Linked DNA regions of Homo sapiens: region 1 is linked to region 2. Evidence: promoter capture Hi-C in human tissues and cell types (Jung and others, 2019). All regions are on one chromosome and are shown on one strand. Each heading gives the region's core, a stretch centred on a gene start or on the middle of the fragment in contact. The rest is flanking DNA. Distances are from core to core; before and after follow the strand shown.

Region 1 (3,131 bases), core at 269-2,768, 270 kb after region 2:
TTTTGGTTATGGTGGGACAGTCTGGACAGTAGATCCCAGAATGCATTGCAGCCGGTGCACACACAATAAAGGCTTGCATTCTTGGAAACCTTGAAACCCAGCTCTCCCTCTTCCCTGACTCATGGGAGTGCTGTATGTTCTCTGGCGCCTTTGGCTTCCCAGCAGGCAGCTGACTGAGGAGCCTTGGGGTCTGCCTAGCTCACTAGCTCTGAAGAAAAGGCTGACAGATGCTATGCAACAGGTGGTGGATGTTGTCAGGGGCTCCAGCCTGCATGAAATCTCACACTCTGCATGAGCTTTAGGCTAGGAAAGGATGCTCCCAACTGGTGTCTCTGGGGTGATGCAAGGACAGCTGGGCCTGGATGCTCTCCCTGAGGCTCCTTTTTCCAGAAGACACACGAGCTGTCTTGGGTGAAGACAAGCTTGCAGACTTGATCAACATTGACCATTACCTCACTGTCAGACACTTTACAGTAGCCAAGGAGTTGGAAACCTTTATATATTATGATGTTAGCTGACCCCCTTCCTCCCACTCCCAATGCTGCGACCCTGGGAACACTTAAAAAGCTTGGCCTCTAGATTCTTTGTCTCAGAGCCCTCTGGGCTCTCTCCTCTGAGGGAGGGACCTTTCTTTCCTCACAAGGGACTTTTTTGTTCCATTATGCCTTGTTATGCAATGGGCTCTACAGCACCCTTTCCCACAGGTCAGAAATATTTCCCCAAGACACAGGGAAATCGGTCCTAGCCTGGGGCCTGGGGATAGCTTGGAGTCCTGGCCCATGAACTTGATCCCTGCCCAGGTGTTTTCCGAGGGGCACTTGAGGCCCAGTCTTTTCTCAAGGCAGGTGTAAGACACCTCAGAGGGAGAACTGTACTGCTGCCTCTTTCCCACCTGCCTCATCTCAATCCTTGAGCGGCAAGTTTGAAGTTCTTCTGGAACCATGCAAATCTGTCCTCCTCATGCAATTCCAAGGAGCTTGCTGGCTCTGCAGCCACCCTTGGGCCCCTTCCAGCCTGCCATGAATCAGATATCTTTCCCAGAATCTGGGCGTTTCTGAAGTTTTGGGGAGAGCTGTTGGGACTCATCCAGTGCTCCAGAAGGTGGACTTGCTTCTGGTGGGTTTTAAAGGAGCCTCCAGGAGATATGCTTAGCCAACCATGATGGATTTTACCCCAGCTGGACTCGGCAGCTCCAAGTGGAATCCACGTGCAGCTTCTAGTCTGGGAAAGTCACCCAACCTAGCAGTTGTCATGTGGGTAACCTCAGGCACCTCTAAGCCTGTCCTGGAAGAAGGACCAGCAGCCCCTCCAGAACTCTGCCCAGGACAGCAGGTGCCTGCTGGCTCTGGGTTTGGAAGTTGGGGTGGGTAGGGGGTGGTAAGTACTATATATGGCTCTGGAAAACCAGCTGCTACTTCCAAATCTATTGTCCATAATGGTTTCTTTCTGAGGTTGCTTCTTGGCCTCAGAGGACCCCAGGGGATGTTTGGAAATAGCCTCTCTACCCTTCTGGAGCATGGTTTACAAAAGCCAGCTGACTTCTGGAATTGTCTATGGAGGACAGTTTGGGTGTAGGTTACTGATGTCTCAACTGAATAGCTTGTGTTTTATAAGCTGCTGTTGGCTATTATGCTGGGGGAGTCTTTTTTTTTTATATTGTATTTTTGTATGCCTTTTGCAAAGTGGTGTTAACTGTTTTTGTACAAGGAAAAAAACTCTTGGGGCAATTTCCTGTTGCAAGGGTCTGATTTATTTTGAAAGGCAAGTTCACCTGAAATTTTGTATTTAGTTGTGATTACTGATTGCCTGATTTTAAAATGTTGCCTTCTGGGACATCTTCTAATAAAAGATTTCTCAAACATGTCAGAGTGGGGGCAGCTTATGCCACCTGAGTCCTCCTCAACCACGGAAAACTATTTCAGGGTAGCCACAAGTGATCCAGAGGGCTGCACTTCTCTAACCATGTTGCTAACCTGGTCATTCCACTCTGGGTTCCTGAAATGCCATTTCAGACATGTTGAAACAATGTAGGCTCAGTACTCAGTGAACACGGAATTCTCTTGTGAATTGCAAAGAGTGCTGAATTTGTACTTTAGAAGGCTTGAAATCCTGGCTCCACCACTTCTGCAGCCTTTAGTTTCATCTTTCTGAGTCCTAGTTTCCTTATCGGTAAAATGGGGATAAATGCTACTTCACTGGGTTTTTGCAGGTATTAAATGAAGGGGTAGACTTAAAACTGCTTTCTAAACTATAAAGCCTTATACTCTTTAGGATGGTGTTATTCTTATCTTAGTGGTATGATGACCTTCTGCAAGATGTCTTTTAAAGTTTTTTTCTGAGAATTTATGTTGCAATGTACTTTTTTCTTACAGAAAGATAGTTTTAAAATTCTTTCTCCTGGCTGGGTGCAGTGGCTTATGCCTGTAATCCCAGCACTTTGCGAGGCTGAGGCAGGCAGACTGCTTGAGCTCAGGAGTTCAAGACCAGCCTGGGCAACATGGCAAAAACCCATGTCTACAAAAAATACAAAAATTAGCCAGGCATGGTGGTACACGCCTGTAGTCCCAACTACTCGGGAGGCTGAGGTGGGAGGATGGCTTGAGCCTGGGAGGCAGAGGTTGCAGTGAGCCAAGATTGCGCCACTGCACTCCAGCCTGGGCAACAGAGCCAGACCCTGTCTCAAAAAAAACATTCTTCCTCCTTAATTAATGAAAGAAAGTTTAAGCTTCATTTTCCTCCCATAGTTCTCATAAACTTGCTGTAAATGCAAGACAGGGGAATTCAGTAATAGCTGTTCCTCATAGGGCACTGCTTATGTCTGAACACTCTGCCATATCAACCATGTGTCAGGGCTACAGATGAAGAAACTGAGGTTCTAAGAGTAAACAAAGCTATGCAAATTCACAAGCTTGTAATTCAGTTGTGATTTGAAACCAGCTCTGCCTATCTCCAGAGCAAGAGGTCTTAGTCACTATATTATGATGATCAGCTTGTTTGTTAGCACGGGGTATGTGGAGAAGGTAAACGTGGAATTCCGTCATTTAACTGCTTGTTGTAACTCTCTTTGGGGCTATTGTGCCTGCCACTTATTGGGATGAAATGGAGCAAATGTCCCATGACCAGCAACTCTG
Region 2 (3,272 bases), core at 282-2,781:
CTATCCTATGAAGTCAGTAAAAATCTGTAAAATAAATGAGCTTACTAAACAGGGATGACTACTACTAAGGAAGCAGAGAACAACAACACGTTAACATTTAATAGTACAGGGCAATGTTGCAGGTTGTACACACAAAAATTGGAGTGGTACAATCCACGGAAAAGATTAGTAAGGACAAAATTCCATTCAGAGAGATGAGGTGCTTCTGCCTCGGCAGAGAGAGGGAAGAAAAGCAATCAAGCAAGCTAACTTTTATTCTACTCCGGACCAACAGAGCAAATTGCCCCCCAAAATTATTATTTTAGAACGCCGCAATTTATTCAGCATACTGGACTACTTATTAGACTCCAAGTACCAACATGCCACGATTATTTTGCATTTTCTAAGGTACAACAGATAAGGAGCTGATGGGTGCCTCTGAAACCTGACAGAACAAACATTGGAAGCAGAAATAATAATGGCCAATATTTGTATTTGTAAAAGACTTGAAAACATACAGAAAAATCTCGGAGTGGTCATGGAGACTAAACTAAACACACCCATAAATATGTAATCATAGGTTAGGACCCACCAAGGCACAGAAATGATCATACGACTGCCAAAAGAGGCCACACTCTACATCCCTCTTCCCATCCTCTTCTACTCAAAGAGTCAGCCTTATTCTCGGTAGCACAATCCTCTCAAAGAAATACAGAAAAGACGAAAGAACGGCTTAAACGTAAAAAAAAAAAAAGCAAAAACCAAACAACCAACCGGCTCCGCAATCCCTAATCAGAAAGCTCTAGACGCCTTTCGAAGCCAACTGTCATACCTTTTAGGAGCCCAGAAGATGTTAACTCCAAAAATAAGTCTCTGGCCCCAACACACCTCTCTGGATTATTCAGAAAAACCCGGGTTTACCAGTTCGGAGATCTGCACTCCACTCAAAAAAGGATCTCCCGGCAGGGACAAGCAATCAATCCCTCAGGGGGCAGTGGCGCTCCAACCACCCGGCCAGGACACAGGCAACGGCGACAGGGCACAGCCCTTCCAGGGACCCGCCAGGGCCCTCCGGGATCTCAGTAAGGCTCAGAGCAAAACGACCCAGCGGTGGCCAAAGTCGGGCAGTGGCGCAGGGGGGCCAGCGGTCGAGCTTCCGAGCTGGGCCTTCCCGGCCCGGGGGCGCGGCGAGTCACGGAGGTGGCGCCTTTCAGTTTGGACCCGGCTGCTTACAGAGGATCCAGGGCCTCCTTCCCTGACTTCCCCGCCCCGCCGCCCTCAGCCAGCCAGTCAGCCCCTCACCTGGCAGAAGCTCCGGCAGTAGTTCAAAGATGAGACCTCCGACACCTCTTGCTCCCTCAGCTCTGTCTCCAGCTGCCACAGACACGGCCGCAGTCCCGAGGCTCCCGGCGCTGGAGATACGGGGCGATGACCCCGAACCATGGACTCAGTCTCGACTCCATCTCCGGCTCCCGCTACCGCCGGAGCCTCAGCCCCAGCCCCGGCGACAGCGGCGGCGTCTCCCTTTCCGTCCGCCATCTTCCCACGGCCCACCAGCGCGTAGGCAACCAAGCCACGTGACTCAGCCCTGGCCCTGCCCCCGGCCGCCCGCGCACTGTGACGCACTCCTTAGCGACGCGGGCGCCCGCCTGATTCCGTCACTCGGACTCCGGGTGCTCTCAGTGGCCTACGCATCGCCAGTCCTGACAACAGCCTAGCAACAACTGGCTAGAGGCTATGCCCACCTAGACCCCTTTGAGGTCATGGGATCACGGAGCCAGAAATGCCTGTAGAGCAATCTAGATTTGAGGGGGATGACATTTGAACTGCGATCTGAAGGGACAAGAGGAAGGTAGCCCTGAAAGGAACATAGCGAAAAGCATCCCTGGTAGAAGGAAAATAAGCAAAGATTGTGAGGCCGAAATGAAGAGTAACATCAAGGGAACTTGGTTTATGATACAGACGGCATTACAAGTCAGTGGGCGAAAGGACAGACTCTTCAATAAATGGCGATGAGACATTTTTTCCAAAAGGGAAATAAATGATTAGATTTCTACCTCAAACCATTTCCAAAAATAAGGCCGAGATGGATTAAAGACCTGCAAACATTTTTCAGAAAATAAAAATAGCTTTATAATGTCAAAAATAGGGAAGAATTTTTTTTTTTTTTTTTAGACGGAGTCTCACCCTTGTTGCCCAGGCTGGAGTGCAACAGTGCTATCTCAGCTCACCGCAACCTCCGCCTCCTTGGTTCAAACATTCTCCTGCCTCAGCTTCCGGAGCAGCTGGGATTACATGCATGCGCCACCATACCTGGCTAATTTTGTATTTTTAGTAGAGATGGGGTTTCTCCATGTTGGTCAGGCTGGTCTCGAACTCCTGACCTCAGGTGATCCGCCCGCCTCAGCCTCCCAAAGTGCTGGGATTAGAGGCGTGAGCCACCGCGCCCGGCTAAGAATTTCTTAATAAGACCGGAAAAGCACAAACCATAAGGGAAAATATTTAGATTTGACTGTATTAAAATGTGTTACTTCCGTATAACAAGTTGAAAAAGCACACAAAGACAAGCCACAGACTAAATGATATTCCCCATATATATAACCATTGTTTATTGTTGTTGTTTTTTGAGACAGGGTCTCACTCTGTCACCCAGCCTGGAGTGCAGTGGCACGATCTAGGCTCACTGCAACCTCTGCCTCTCAGGTTTAAGTGATTCTCGTGCTTCAGCCTCCCAAAGTAGCTGGCACTATAAGCGTCCGCCACCATGCCTGGCTAATGTTTGTATTTTTAGTAGAGGCGGGGTTTCACTGTGTTGGCCAGGCTGATCTCGAACTCCTGGCCTCAAGTGATCCGCCCGCCTTGGCCTTCCAAAGTGCTGGGATTACAGGCGTGAGCCACCGCGCCCAGCCATAACCATTGTTTTGATTAGTATCCAAAACAGTTCCCGGGCTGGGCGAGGTGGCTCACGCCTGTAATCCCAGCACTTTGGGAGGCCGAGGCGGGCAGATCACGAGGTCAGGAGATCAGGACTATCCTGGCTAACACGGTGAAACCCTGTCTCTACTAAAAATACAAAAAATTAGCCGGGCGTGGTGGCGGGCGCCTGTAGTCCCAGCTACTCGGGAGGCTGAGGCAGGAGAATGGCGTGAACCTGAGAGGCAGGGGTTGCAGTGAGCCGAGATCGCGCCACTGCATTCCAGCCTGGGTGACAGAGCAAGACTCCGTCTCAAAAAACAAACAAACAAACAAACAAATAGTTCCCAAAATCGAAAAAGGCAAACAACCCAATAGAA

The links. The method cuts DNA at HindIII sites, captures the fragments that hold promoters and counts their contacts. A contact is called where the count stands out against the background at its distance.
Region 1: a fragment that was not itself captured here is called in contact with the fragment with the promoter of RLF in region 2 in 1 of the 25 tissues and cell types used here (liver).

What each region holds. Positions count from the first base shown.
Region 1 is chr1:39,894,158-39,897,288 of GRCh38, reverse strand. It overlaps MYCL (MYCL proto-oncogene, bHLH transcription factor), which reads left to right. Exons shown (of 2, transcript NM_001033081.3): 2 at 1-1,861. The region is part of intron 1 of MYCL-AS1 (MYCL antisense RNA 1); the gene reads right to left. Among named protein-coding and RNA genes, the nearest start is that of MYCL, 6.2 kb to the left of the region's middle. The HindIII fragment of the contact is 4,329 bases long and covers 1-3,131 here.
Region 2 is chr1:40,159,646-40,162,917 of GRCh38, reverse strand. It overlaps RLF (RLF zinc finger), which reads right to left and starts at 1,531. Exons shown (of 8, transcript NM_012421.4): 1 at 1,282-1,531. The coding sequence starts at 1,518. LOC105378671 (a long non-coding RNA gene) reads left to right here and starts at 1,640. Exons shown (of 3, transcript XR_947232.3): 1 at 1,640-1,953. RefSeq lists enhancers at 627-1,242, 1,246-1,755, 1,243-1,859 and a silencer at 2,868-3,069. The HindIII fragment of the contact is 7,287 bases long and covers 1-3,272 here.